Regions from separate parts of the Homo sapiens genome. Here region 2 is linked to region 1. The links are contacts of gene promoters, found by promoter capture Hi-C in blood cells and fetal thymus (Javierre and others, 2016). All regions are on one chromosome and are shown on one strand. The core of a region is centred on a gene start or on the middle of the fragment in contact, and the rest is flanking DNA. Distances in the headings are between cores, read along the strand shown. Region 1 holds the start of CAHM (colon adenocarcinoma hypermethylated). Region 2 overlaps PCMT1 (protein-L-isoaspartate (D-aspartate) O-methyltransferase).

Region 1 (7,605 bases), core at 2,883-5,382:
AGAAACAAAAGTCATGATCAATTTGTTTTGGACAATGACAAACCACAAAGGGGTAAAGCACAAGATGCCAAATTTCACAATTAAATCATCCAGAAAAAAAAATGTGATGGACTTCAGAAACCAATATTTTTCTTAAGTCAAATTAAGTTTATAACAAGGCTAACAATTACAGGAAGCCGCTTATTCCACACTAAGGAATAGCCCTTTTTCCTGCATGTTTGTACTGGTCTGATAAAAAACAATCAAACTTCCTCGTCATTATATTGCCCATTTTAAACATACTATATGCCACACAGAAGCAATCTTTACACTGGGGAATTGACAAGGCTAAAACTAAAGATAGCAAGACAAGAGATGGAGTAAACCACATTAAAAGGGGAAGGGGAAACAAACATTATCTAGGAGATATCATAGTGGTCTCTTACATTTAAAACGCAAACGAGTACTATTTCCAACCAGAGAGAAATAAGCCTTTGTCAGAGACAATGACATAATTGAAATTTCTGGATTTGAAAGATTAAAAATTATTAAAGCCTAAGGTTGGAAACTTGATAACAAGGAATCAGCTCTAAATTTAGAGATTTTAGATCAACATAAAAGCACAAGAAGCCTTTTAAAACTAAAGAACGCAAAAGTATGCAGCTTTTTAAATAGTATACATAAGGTGAAAGTATTTTCAAACTTTTTTTTGGAATCTCCTATAGTCTTTGAATTCGACATTTCAGGAATGCAATTTAATTTTAATTAACCCTAAATATTGCCAAGGCCTATTTTCATTTTATCGTCGATAAAGGATTCCTTCTAAACAACTGCACTCAAGAAAACAAACTTTCACCAGAAATTGTTACTAATACTACTAAAACTTTAACTTAACCAAAATATGCCAAGGAGAAGACAGTAAGAGTGTTATTTTGAAACGTCATAAAGTTGTGCCAATAATTTTAAGGAAAGTATTTTCAATGTTCGAAAACACTATATAAACACATTATGACAAATCAAATAATCTATAACTTAAGTTTCAACTAAATTTAATATAGGTCAGTCAGATTGAGTATGTTACACATTTTGTTCCAACCATTTCCATGGTTAAAAAATAACTGGCGCCCCTTAGCGCTCACATTTGGAAATACTCAATTTAAGAGTTCCAGCATTTTTTTTTTTTTTTTGACATTCCAGAAAGTTTTCTGCCTCCACAATCTTTCAAATGCCAACACAAATAGGAAAAGCAGAACCCCTTAAAGGGACAGCTCAGGTTTTCTCTGGAGCAACTTGAAATTAACAGATTTGCTGTTCCAACAGCGGAAAATGCCCATTTCAACGTTGGTGAGTGCTGTATGTTTAACATACGGAAGCAAAACGACGAGAAAGCCGTAACACCTAACCATTTTCTACTTTTAAGTTGTTTCTATGACTTTCAAGACAACAGAACTCCTGGGATTTTTCTTTAACCATTTTTTATCATGGAAACATTTCCGGCCTTTTGTTCTCTAGTGACATTCCAACTCCCCAAGCTTCAAACTCCTGTTCCCCGACTCTATTTTTAAAATCTCGAAATTCTTGCGAAAAATCTAAACTCCATTGTTCATCTCTTCAACCTGTAGTTTTCAGTTTCCTTTACACAGTCCTCCGGTGGTGCCTCTAAGCAGGAAAAAAAAACAAACAAACTCCTGGCCAGTCGATTTTCGAAACAGACTTTTTTTGTGGTCTTTTTTTTCTCTAGGCGTCCACAGAAACCCACAGCTACTAGAAATTAATACTTCAGGTACTGCTATGAGAACTTCTTAAGGAAATTCCAAAGTTGGTCAACATTAATCTTCTTGTCATTCTTCACTCCCCACAGCGCTCCATACAGCTTTTTGGAAACTTTGGCTCAATTTTATTTCGCCCTTTCCAAACGTCTCGAAACCCTGTCCTACAAACTCAGGCGGCTGCGTCCCCGGGAGCAAACCCTCCGCCCAAGTTCTTCTAACTCAGGCTGCGCTCCGATCTGTCATCGCGTTATTTCGCACTCCACCCCCCCCCCCCCCACCCCCGAAAAGTGAAGTTCAACTCCCTAACAGTTCTCGCTTCCCCAAACAAAAGGGAAAAAAGTGCTTTTCGCCGTCACTTAGTCCTCCTTGTCGGCTACGCCAGCATAATTTCGGTCTCCTACGGAATTTCTTTAAACTAACGAGCCCCACACTGACTTCCACTTAGTATTGAACAGCTGCACCAACTCCCCAACCACGAAACCCCGCTTTAGTCCTCACGGGAGGGGAGAGCTCCCGAACGCGGGGCGGTGGGGGTCCGCGCAGAGCAGGCTCGGGAGGCCGAGCGGAGGAGCGGGGCCCGCGCCGGGCACACGCGTCCTCCAGGCCGGCGGCGCGGCGTGGGCCTGCTCTCGGGAGGGCTCGGCGAGGACCACCGAGTCCGCGCAGCCCCCGCCGACCTCTCGGAAATGTGACCGCCGAAGCTAGAGGGGCCGCAGGGCTCACCCCGCAGCCCTCCGCAACGCGCCAACTTGGACGCCAGCGGCGCGGGGTCCCGGCCGGGCAGGGGGCGTCCGGCACCGGCGGGTCCACCCCGGCCCGCCCGCCCGCCGCAAGCCCGGCCCGGCACCTCCTTTGTGCGCCCTCCTGGCCTCCCAGTCCCCCCGGCGCTCGGTCCCGCCCGGCCGTGACCTTCCCGCCCTCCCCACCATCCCAAGCGGGGAAAGGGGCCGCCCCGGCGGGGGTCGGGCCGGGGCCGGGGCCCTGGAGACGCTCACCTTCGTCCAGCAGCCGCTCGAGGTGGTTGAAGATCCCGCAGAAGTTGGGCAGGCTGCTCATGAGCTTCTTGTCGTTCATCAGCTGCATCAGGTAATCTGGGGTGGGCTTCGGCTTCTCCTTCGTTTCCATTTCCCCGACCATATTCCAGGCTCCGCAGCTCACTCCGCCCGCCGCCGCCGCCGCCGCCGCCGGAGAGGAGGGAGGGGCGGGGGCGAGCCCCGGCCGCGGGCCGCTCGGGACCCGGCGTCCCGCTCCGCGCCGGCTCCCGCTCTGGCTCCCGCGCCGAGCCCCGGGGCGGCCGGCACCGCGCGCTCGCCCGCCCCCCGCAGGCACTTTCCGCCCGGGCCCGACGCGCTCCCAGCCGCCGCCGCTCTCGGCCGCCCGGCTCGGCGCGTCCCTCACGAGGCCGGCGGGCGGGCGGGAGGCGGGTCTCGGCTGGCCGAGTGCGGGCGCGGGGCGCGGGCTGCTGGCGCCGGACGAGGAGGAGCCGGGGCCGCCGCTCGCTCGGCTGGTCGAGCCCGCTCAGCGCCGCCGCCGCCTGTGCCGCGGGCTCGGGGGGTCTCTCTGGGCTGGTCCCCGCCGCGGCGCCTCTGCCGCTGCCGCCGCGCTCCGACTGCGCTCCTCCTCTTCCTCCTCCTCCTTCTCCTCCTCCTCCTCCTCACTCACTTGGCGGCGGAGTTCGCCTCAGTTCAGGCGGCGCTGCCAGCGGCGGCGGCAGCAGCGGCGGCGGCGGGGGGAGGGGCAGCGGCGCGGGGAGGGCCGGGGGCGGGCGGCGGGCGGGGCCGCGCAGGGCGGCCGTTAGCGGGTCCCGGCCGGCGCGCTCCCGCTGCCTGCTGCCCGCCGCCCCGCGACCGGGGCAGCCGCCGGCGCCGCGCCCCCTCCTCCCTGCCTCCCCGGCGGGGCGGGCGACGGGGGCAACGGGAGTGTGACGGACTGCGGCGCTCGGCGGGCCTGGGCGCAAGGACTGGGTCGCCGCCGTGCGGGGCGCCCGGGGCGGGTGGGTGTGGGCTGCGGGGCCGACGGCCGCGGGGGGGGCGCGGGGCTTTCCACGGCACGGGGCGGGTGGGGCTGCGGGCGCGGTCGGGGCTGGCGCGGCAGGCGAGAGGAATTCCAGCGGGACGCGCCAGCGCTGCCTCCGCCTCGCCTCCCGTTACTATAGTTTTTTCAGAACCTCTTATCCACCCCGCAGAAGAGAAATTTTTTTTTAACGTCCTGTTGCTTCACGGGGGACTTTCGGGGTGGGCATCACGTGGCCCGACACGTAGCCGTGGGGCTCCAGAGCGCGTGCGCGCGTCGAGCCCGGTCGCCACGCCCCTTCCGAGGGTCGCTCCGCCCCCGTCGGGCCCCGCGAGCGCGCGGTGGGGGAGGGGAGGGCCCCGGAGCGCGCCTGCGTGGGGCGGGGGCGGCAGCCGACTAGGGGCTGGGTCTGGCCGTTTAGGGCCGGGTCTTGGCCCGTCGCCCACGGTGCGGAGGGCTGGTGGGCTTTCCTTGGCCGTCGGGCCCGCCACGGCGCGGGTCTTGGCTGCGGGGCGGAGGTGGGGCGGGAGAGCCGAGGATAAGAGTTTGAGGCTTTTCGAGGCGCGTGCCGCGGCGTCCGCCTCTGCGGGACTCTGCGCCGGGCGCCCTCGGCCGGCGCGCCCGGCTCCCGCTTTGTCGCCGAGGGAAGCACGCGCGACGCCCCTCCCGTCGCCGCCGTGGCTTCTTTCGGTGTTCGTGATTTGCTGAGAGGCTGGAAAGCAGCACGGCGGAGAGGAGCCTTGCACTCGCCAGGCGGGAAGCCTGCGCGGACACGCGTGCGCACCCACGGGGCGGCGGGCGGGCGTGGGGGGTCCGGGCCACGCGGGCGACGCGCCTCTAGGGAAGCGATCTTGTTGCACCTTCCCGTTATTCTGAAAGCAAATCGTAGCCAGACCCGAGCGCAGCGGCTTAGCAAATAATAAGGGGAGCGTCAGTCGTGCTCGAAATGCTTCCTTCGCGATGGCGTCAGTGTTCCGTGAGGGAATGAAGCCGCAGTAGGAAATAAAGAGGCTGTGCGCGTAGTCTGAAAAGCAGAAGTCAACATTTTTACAGATGAAGAAAGAATACGGAGGCAAGAGGTCTTTCTCTGCAGTTTGGTGGATTTCCAACATTTAGACTTGTTTGGAAGAATTTCCTCAGCTGCACCAATGAAGTCCTTGATCTATAGAAGTCGGCAGTCCCTAAATCTACGTCTGCATTTTGTTGCAAATCCTTTATAACATTCCATTAAAATAATGCAGAGTTATTTAATATCCAGTTGGCCATCGTGAGAGTAATTCGCGGCTGAGATTTTGTTAATCATTCTGTCTTCTGACTTAACAGTGAACGTAGGTGATTTTTTTTGTAAAATGTTGCTTCACATGAATTGTGAGAATCACCTCTAAGTTTGAATTGTACTGAAGGCACTATAAGAATTTCAAATGAACGCTGAGTAGCCAGTAGCCTTCTGGCCTTTTCGTTTAACAAGCACAGAGTTCGTTTTTAAAATTAAGTTACTTTGACAGAGGAAATGTAATAGCCTTGGTAGACAACATTAAAAATGTAACTGTCAGATGTTTTAAAGTCTCCAACAGCCGTATCTGTTTTAGAGCCATAGAATATTTACTTACTGAATTGCCTGTTTAAAGATGAACTTTCTAAATGCAGGGAATAGTAACTTGCAAAAAAGCTATGGTCTCTAAGTAATGAAGGCTGTTTCAGTACCTAGAAAAATCAAAATCAAGGTTTTGATGCTGCTAGTGTAAAAGATGCAATCCCCTTCTTAATGGCCTGCTTATTTATTAAGCTCCTAGGCACTATGCTGAATGCCCTACATGCATATCTCGTTTAATCATCAGTACAACTTGGGCTTAGGTTAGACTGTTATCCCCATTTTACAAATAAGGGGAAACCCAAGAAAGATGAAGTTAAGTAACTTGCCCAAGAATATAGCTAGTGAGTCCTGTGTCTGGGATTATAATCCAATTATATTTTATTCTAAAGCTTTTTTTTTTTTTTTTGCTTTTTTTCCTTGCCCTATCCTTTAAATCAGGTTGAATTTTATGACAATATTCCACCATTTTTGACCCATAGAAATGGCAGTGTCATAAGGCTCAACCACTTAAACCAGATTAAAGAACAATGATAGGCAATTTTCATTTCCTATGTATTAAATCACTTACGGTTACAGCATTTGATAATAGCTACTGTGTGTTAATTTTCTTTTTTTTGAAACAGAATTTCGCTCTTGTCACCCAGGCTGGAGTGCAATGGCGCGATCTCGGCTCACTGCAACCTCTGCCTCCCCGGTTCAAGTGATTCTCCTGCCCCAGCCTCCCGAGCAGCTGGGATTACAGGCATGCGCCACCACGCCTAGCTAATTTTGTATTTTTAGTAGAGACGGGGGTTTCTCCATGTTGGTCAGGCTGGTCTCGAACTCCCGACCTCAGGTGATCCGCCCCCCTCAACCTCCCAAAGTGCTGGGATTACAGGCGTGAGCCACGTGCCTGGCAGGTTACCTTTTCAAATCTATGTAGATCACCTCATTTCCTGACAGTCCCTCAATGGTTTCTTATCTCAAAAAAAAAAAAAAAAAAAAGGAAAGAAAGAAAAAATCCGAAGAGCTTACCAAGTCCTGCAAGACGACAGGTGTGCCCCTGGTGCATCACTGACCTTATGTCCTTCTCCTCCCACAGCCCACTTGGCTGCACCCCCGTGGAATCCGTCTGGATCCTTAAATATTCCAAGCATGCTTACCCTCCCCAGGACTCTGCCCTTGGTGTTTGCTCTCCTCGGAAAGCTTTTCCCCATACATCGGCGACCCCTGCCCCTATTTATCTTTAGAAGGTGTCCCTTAACACCCTATGTAAAATGGCGCCTTTGTGCACGCAAACACTTCCTCCCTTCTTCCATCTGCTTACCCCAGGTTCTTTTCATACCATTTGTTTCCACGTAACAATGGGTCAACTCGTTTGCCACTGGCATCAACATTGTAAGCTCCATGAGAAAAAGGAGTTTCTTCTATTAGGAATTTCCAACACCTAGATCAGCATATGGTACACGTAGGCACTTATTAAATATATGTCCAAAAGAAGTATTAAGTACTTGTTATGGACCAGAAGCTCTGCAAAACCCTTATCTTCATTGTTTATTTTCATCCTTACAGCCAATATTTGAGGTAGGCAGGAAGAGCCATATTTCAGAGATGAGAGGGCTGATGCTTAGGAGGAGTAAGTAGCTGCAGAGGGTCGGGTGCGGTGTTTGTGCCAGTAATCCCAGCATTTTGGGAGGCCAAGACAGGTGGATCACTTGAGCCCGGGATTTTGAAACCAGTCTAGGCAACATAGTGAGACCCTATCTCTCTAGAAAATACAAAAATTAACAGAGTCTGGTGTCACATACCTGTAGACCCAGCTACTTGGGAGATTGAGGTGGGAGGATCAGGGAGGCAGAGGTTGCAGTGAGCTGTGATCACACCATTGCACTCCAGCCTGGGCAACAGAGCAAGATCCCGTCTCAAAAAAAAAAATGTAGAAAGACTAACTTTGTAATAATTACATTATTACAAAAATGTTATCTTAATACAGTATTGAAAATAAATTACAACATGTAGTGAGTATATATACAGAATGAGCCTCCAGTTGAAGATCCCTATAATAGGTTTTTTCACTGTGAAAAATTGTCATCTAATATGTTGACACTAAAAATGGTTCCACATTCTAACATCAGTAATTAACCAGGCGTGGAAACATATTTTCTATTCTGTTAAATTTGATTGGCTCTATTTGCTTATTGCTATTCTTAACATTTAAAATAGAAATTTGCAGTATTCCAAACCTTTCTTTATCACCATAGAGTTCTC
Region 2 (7,266 bases), core at 4,304-6,803, about 14 Mb after region 1:
ACTACATGACATTTCTTCAAATTTAAACACCACTGCTCCCTAAAGGTTTTGCTAAACCAAACCACCTCCATCCCTTCAAAGCACCATGTAAGATGCTGATCCTCTTGTTATCTTCATCACTCTTATCCAATAATCTTTAGTTTTACACTGCCACCCTGAAAGCATTTAACCAAAGCTAAATATAATATTAATAAAAATATTTTTGTAACAGCACAATCGAATCTTTCCCCTCCTACAGCCTAAGATCTCATTAACCAGAATGTAATACAGCCAAGCATCAAGATCTACTGCAATCCAAAAGAACCTTCAGTGATGGCAGATCTATTCTCTATCTGCACTGTCCAACAGGGTGGGCACTAGCTCCATGTGGCTACTGAGCTCTTGAAATGTGGCTAATATGACTAAAGATATAAATTTTTAATTTTATTTATTTATGTATTTATTTTGAGGCAGTTTCGCTTTTTCACCCAGGCTGGGGTACAATGGAGCGATCTCAGGTCACTGCAAACTCCACTCCCCGGGTTCAAGCGATTCTCCTGCTTCAGCCTCCGAGTAGCTGGGATTATAGGCTCCTGTCACCATGCCCAGCTAATTTTTGTATTTTTAGTAGAGACGGGTTTTCGCATTGTTGGCCAGGCTGGTCTGGTACCCCTGACCTCAGGTGATCCACCCACCTCGGCCTCCCAAAGTGCTAGGATTACAGGCATGACCCACCACGCCCGGCCAATTTTATTTATTTTTATATAATTTAAATTTAAATATATACATAGGATTTCAAGTTTACTTACTAGTACCTATCCATAAGACTGGTTTGAAATAAGTCAAAATGAGAAGGCCTCTGGACTTTGAGGCTCCAATTTCTTAGGATTTTACCAGCTGGTTCTATTTTTCCCATGTGCATACAAAAGTAGTGGAATATTAAGAGTAAATGCTGGCTGGGCGCAGGGGCTCATGCCTATAATCCCAGCAATATTGGAGACTGAGGCGGGTGGATCACTTGAGCCCAGGGGTTTGAGACCTGCCTGGGCAACATGACAAAACCCCGTCTCTACCAAAAAAAAAAAAAAAAAAAAAAAAAAAAAAAAGCCAGTCATGGTGGTGTGCATCTGTAGTCCCAGTTACTCGGGAGGCTGAGATGGAGGAGTCGCTTGAACCCAGGAAACAGAGGTTGCAGTGAGCTAAGATCACGCCACGGCACTCCAGCTTGGGCGACAGAAAGAGGCTCTGTCTCAAAAAAAAAAAAAGGGAAAGAATAAATGCTCTTTTCTACTAGCAACACCTACTAGTGGCTAAGAACTGGTGCTGTAGATAGAAAATAATTTCATTATTTACAAAAGTAAATGCTTTTAGGATATAAAAACTACAAATCATAATTCTTGCATATTCAAATGCCTACTAAAAATCTCGACTTAAATGTCTTATAAGAAAAGCATTCCTCAAAATAATCTGATCTCCCACAGTCCCCTCCTCACAGAATAAACGTGGCTGCTCACTCACTCACCATTTCCAATTTAGAAAATGGCAAATCATTCCAGTTGCCAAGGCCTAAAACCTTGGTGTTGGATCCTTGCCTCCAATCTTTTCTCCCAGATCCTAAATCCAAATCTGGAATTCGCTATTTCTTCTGCCTGGAATGCTTATCCCAAGTCTACCTGCGTGATATGTGTCTACTCCTCCAGCAAATCTTTGGTCTAATGATACCTTACTGAGGCCTTCTCTACAACTATAAACCTACTGCCCCACACACTCTGTCCTCCCTCCCTACTTTGTCACTTATCATGTGACATACTATACTTGGCTGCTCCCATTAGAAGCTACAAGAGGGAGTGGATGTTTGTTTTGTTCACTGCTGTATCCCCAGTGCCTGTCATATAGAAAGCACTAAAATATCAGCTGACTAAATGACAAATTCCATAAACATTATATATGTAAAATGACAAAATCAAGAATGCAAAAGAAACATAAGTAGAAACAATTGATCATTAGGGGAATGGACTGAATTATTTTTACAAATAAAAATAGATAAAAGAACAATTGCTTTCAGTGGTCAGTACAGTAGTTTCCCTTTACCCACAGGAAATACGGTCCAAGACCCTTAATAGATGCCTGAAACCGCATACAATACCAAAGCCCATACAGCCCATACAGATACTCAACATTTTTTTTTTTTTGAGACAAAGTATTGCTCCATCACCCAGGCTCGAGTGCAGTGGCATGATCTTGGCTTACTGCACCCTCAACCTCTCGGGCTCAAGTGATCCTCCCATCTCAGCCTCCCACGTAGCTCATGTAGCTGAGACTACAGGCATGCACCATAATGCCCAGCTAATTTTGTTTATTTTTTGTAGAGAAAATGACAAATGTTATTTTCACTATGTTGCCTAGGCTGGTCTCAAACTCCTGGACTGAAGCGATCCTCCTGACTCAGCCTCCCAAAGTTCTGAGATTACAGGTGTGAGCCACCGCACTCGGCCTTCCTTAACTTATAACAGGTTTATTATGACAGGTTTACATCCAGTAAAGTAAAAAACTTGTAAGTCAAACCACTGTTAAGTCAGGGACCATCTGTATGTTGTTTTCTTCCTATACGTAACATACCTATAATAAAGTTTAGTTTATAAATTAGGCACAATTAAGAAATTAACAAAAATAATGAATAAAATAGAACAAGTATCATTACATGCCAGCACCATTATTCTTGCACTTTGGGTCCATTATTAAGTAAAATAAGGATTATTTGGACACAAGCCCTGTGATACTATGACAGTCACTGCTAACCAAATAGGCTACTAAGTGACAAACGGGCAGGTGTAGACAGCATAGATATGCTGAACAAAGGGATGATTCATGTCACGGGCAGGATCAAGTGGGACGTCCAGAGAGTTCCTCACGCTACTCAAAACAGCACACAATTTAAAACTTATGAATTGCTTGTTTCAGGAATTTCCCATTTAATATTTTCAGACCTCAGTTGACTTGGGGTAACTGAAACTTCAGAAAGCAAAACCATGGGATAAGGGAGGGACTACTCTATAGCATTTGAAGCCTATCCATTAAGTTAACATCCCACAAACCCTCTGGTTTAAATACCCCTGCTCCAGAACATCACCTCACCTACTCTGGCTATCTTCCTAAATTTTACCATGGCTTGAAATTATCTCAATACGAGTAGGAAGTAAACTCTAATATAAACATTATTTAAATAGTCACATTCCCTGGATTAAGCAGGCTCACGGTTTCAAATTAAGCTAATTTGTTTCACGAGCACATTACCAGTCCATAATCATAAAATAATTGTATTTTTTCATTTCTAGAGACCTGTGCTGTCCAATATGGTAACTACTGGATACATGTGGTTATTTCATTAAGTTAATTTTTTAAAAAATTGAATTTCGGTTCTTCAGTTGTCCACATTTCAAATGTTAAATGCCACATGTAGCTAGTAGCTACCACACTGGACAATATAGAGAACATCACCAAGCACTCTATAGGGCAAGACTGCTATAGACTTTTTCTAAAACATTATTCTAAAGCATAAAACTGATTTAGCTGATATGCTGGCAGAATTCAACCTTATAATTTTCAATTCTCCATGTCACTGGTTCTCAAAATGTGGTCCCTGGACCAGCAGTGGCACCACTTACAAATCTGTTAGAAATACAAATTCTCAAGCTCCGGCAATCTGTATTTTGAAAAGCTCTCCAGGTGATTCAGGAGATTTTGAAGCATGCTCAAGTTTTAGTCACTGTTCTAAGTTACTTAAGAGTGGTTATAATATAAGCCATGACATAAGAAATCTACCATTACAATCTGAAATATTCTATAAATGATGCATCAACTATGAAATCATACAACCACAGTCCTATTATGATAGATTTTAATACAAAAGGAAAACAAAATATTCTTAACAAATTATATTAAGCTTCATTTCTTAAAAACAAAACAAAACAAAACAAAAAAAACTATTGGCCAGGTGTGGTGGATCATGCCTGTAATCCCAGCACTTTGGGAGGCTGAGGCAGGCAGATCACCTGAGGTTGGGAATTCAAGACCAGCTGACCAACATGGAGAAACCTTGTCTCTACTAAAAATACAAAATTAGCTGGGTGTGGTGGCGCCTGCCTGTAATCCCAGCTACTCGGGAGGCTGAGGCCAGAGAATTGCTTGAACCTGGGAAGCAGAGGTTGTGGTGAGCTGAGATCGTGCCATTGCACTCCAGCCTGGGCAATAAGAGCGAAACTCTGTCTCAAAAAAAAAAAACCATTAAAAATGTAATTTCCTTCCCCTTCTAGTAAGCAGGCCCCTTTTCATTTCAACATCAACACAATCACATTTTTATATTTTTCTAAGATTTCAATTAAAAGCCTTTAATTTAGGAAGAATATACACAGTAGAATAATGAGGAAGGAAGGCAATATTTTCAAATTTTATGTCAATTACAATTTTCACATGAGCAAGTATTACTTTTATAATAAGCTAATAAAAAGAAATCTATTAGCTAGAATTACCTCAGCAAGAAGTTGAAACTAAAGTTGCACAAGTGTTACAAAAGAGGCTAAACAACTATTCTACTCTAATTTCCTCTTACCAATCATAAATCTAGTATAAAACTATTTGCAAAATCAACATCTATGTATATTAAATATTCCTTATTAAATTTCCTGACAGAAAAACATCCTTAGAAATTTCAGCTAAGAACAGTAATGCAATACATTAAAGTGATTATGAAACCACCGGGAAAAGATCTATCTAGTCTTGGCTTACCACAAATTTGGCCCAAAAAAGGAGAGACTTTAAGAGCCTGATTGATTACAAATTTCTGCCACAGCCAAGTGCCTACTATGATAACCTACCGGTGGAAAATTACTTAATCACAATTTGTGTACAAAATGTTTCAGGTACATATACTGCAATAGAAGGCACTGAGATCATGTTAAGGGATTTCGTAAAAAATATTTACAACATATTGAGCTTATGTGCCATCCATGAGAACCCAAATCATACTTCATACTACTGTTGTAGCACATAAATGTCCATTTCCAATCAAGCATCATTCCATAAAATGAACCTGACAATGCTTGACAAAATATTGACATCTAGGCTGGGCGTGGTGGCTCACACCTGTAATTCAAGCACTTTGGGAGGCCGAGGCAGGCAGATCACCTTAGGTCAAGAGTTTGAGACCAGCCTGGCCAACATAGTGAAACCCCGTTTCTACTAAAAATACTAAAAATTAGCCAGGCGTGGTAGTGGGTGCCTGTAATCCCAGCTACTCGGGAGGCTGAGGCAGAAGAATCGCTTGAACCCAGGAGGCAGAGGTTGCAGTGAGCCAAGATCACGCCATTGCACTCCAGCTTGGGAAACAAGAGCAAAACTCTGTCTCAAAAAAAAAAAATGTTGACATCTAAACATTCACCATGGCCAGGTGCGGTGGCTCACTCTTGTAATCCCAAAATTTTGGGAGCCTGAGTCCAACAAATTGCTTGAGTCCAGGAGTTCAAGACCAGCCTGGGCAACATAGCAAGACCCCATCTCATAAACTACCAAAAAAAAAAAAAAAACCCTAAAAATTAGCCTGGTATGGTGGCACCACTGTACTCAGGAGGCTGAAGTGGGAAAATCGCTTGAGCACAGAAAGCAGGGGTTGCAGTGAGCCGAGCTCACACCACTGCACTCCAACCTGGGTGACAGTGAAACCCTGTCTAAAAAAAAAAAATAATCAACATTCTCTCTTACCAAACACTAAAGACTCAGTTTCCACATTAAGTATTGTCCCCCCACCAAAAAAAAATCCAAAATGACTAATATATCAAGTACCGGCCTGGCGCGGTGGCTCACGCCTATAATCCCAGCACTTTGGGAGGCCGAGGTGGGCAGATCATGAAGTCAGGAGTTCGACATCAGCCTGGCCAACATAGTGAAACCCCTTCTCTACTAAAAATACAAAAATTAGCCAGGCGTGCTGGCAGGCGCCTGTAGTCCCAGCCACTCAGGAGGCTGAGACAGGACAATTGTTTGAACCTGGGAGGCGGAGGTTGCAGTGAGCTAAGACCGCGCCATTGCACTCCAGTCTGGGCTACAGAGGGAGTCTCTGTCTCAAAAAAAAAAAAAAAAAAAAAAAGTACCAACCATGTGCCAAACAGTACTCCTAATTTCTCTCAATTACCTTTGTCTGTCTAGCACAGATTTAGGCATATAACGGACATTTAATGGGCATTTATGAAAAAAAGGGATGACTGTTAAATTCTTAGAGAAAATTCAAAAAAAAATTTTTTTTTTGAGGCGGAGTTTCCTCCCTTGTTGCCCAGGCTGGAGTGCAGTGGCAAGATCTTGGCTCACTGCAACCTCCCCGTCCCGGGTTCACGCGATTCTCCTGCCTCAGCCTCACAAGTAGCTGGGATTACAGGCAGGCACCACCACGCCCGGCTAATTTTTGTATTTTTAGTAGAGATGGGGTTTCACCATGTCGGCCTGGCTGGTCTCGAACTCCTGAACTCAGGTAATCCACCCGCCTCGGCCTCCCAAAGTGCTGGCATTACAGGCGTGAGCCAATGAGCCCGGCCAAAAAAAATTTTTTTTAATGGTGCCAGCCGTTAAGGAAATTACAAATCGAGTTGAGAAATAAGACAAACACATGAAAAGCTAAGTAACACAGGACAATTAAAAATACCATGTGACAAGATATGATTACTGCATAGTAGCGAATAATGCTATAAATTCTGACCAGTGAGTTTATTATAGACTGCGGCCCTTGTAGTCTCCCAACAAAACGGGGACGCTATATTTCGATTTAAAAAAAGAAAGTGACACAGCACTCATCCTATCCTAAAATTATCATCAGAAGAAGGAATACAGTAACTAAGGAGAGTGATATAAAGAAACTCCACATAAGGTTTTTAAAGCCTATGGTAGCCCTGAAAAAAGTTAGAACATCAGACACACAACCCTCTGCTGATCCAGGACCTGCAAAGGCTCCTGAAATACAAGTCTCTCAGGAACAGCATCCCCTGTTCTTTCTCCGCCCCGCACGGAGCTTTCCACTGGACAGCCGCCCGAGAAATTTCTCCCAGCATCTGCAATGGCAATACTCTCATCTTCCTCCCCTCGCCTGTATCAGACGGTGGCATCTCCCTCCAGGGGAAAAAACGGAGGGCGGGGGAGGCTGCATAAGAGGGAAAGCTTGCAGCGAGGTTGATTATGGAGGAGGAAGGTGAGAAAAATGCAGGGGACGAGGGTGGGGTCTCCTGAGCGCCAGCCCACTCTCCA

Evidence for each region. Contacts are between HindIII fragments. The CHiCAGO score rates a contact against its expected background, and 5 or more counts as called.
Region 2: a fragment that was not itself captured here is called in contact with the fragment with the promoter of CAHM in region 1 in 1 of 17 cell types (fetal thymus); the score reaches 6.1 in fetal thymus.

Annotation. Positions count from the first base shown.
Region 1 is chr6:163,410,477-163,418,081 of GRCh38, reverse strand. CAHM (colon adenocarcinoma hypermethylated) reads left to right here and starts at 4,132. Exons shown (of 1, transcript NR_037593.1): 1 at 4,132-5,017. QKI (QKI, KH domain containing RNA binding) reads right to left here and starts at 3,364. Exons shown (of 8, transcript NM_006775.3): 1 at 2,747-3,364. The coding sequence starts at 2,888. LOC124901234 (basic proline-rich protein-like) reads right to left here and starts at 6,501. Exons shown (of 4, transcript XM_047419614.1): 1 at 6,373-6,501; 2 at 3,997-5,468; 3 at 3,414-3,833; 4 at 2,906-3,117. The coding sequence starts at 4,876. The coding sequence ends at 2,906. RefSeq lists silencers at 2,346-2,535, 2,736-2,785, 3,036-3,855, 3,946-4,725 and enhancers at 2,806-3,459, 3,460-4,112. The HindIII fragment of the contact is 4,236 bases long and covers 1,514-5,749 here.
Region 2 is chr6:149,750,332-149,757,597 of GRCh38, reverse strand. All of the region lies in intron 1 of PCMT1 (protein-L-isoaspartate (D-aspartate) O-methyltransferase), which reads right to left. Among named protein-coding and RNA genes, the nearest start is that of PCMT1, 4.2 kb to the right of the region's middle. RefSeq lists enhancers at 5,921-6,423, 6,424-6,926 and silencers at 7,031-7,266, 7,251-7,266. The HindIII fragment of the contact is 3,257 bases long and covers 3,925-7,181 here.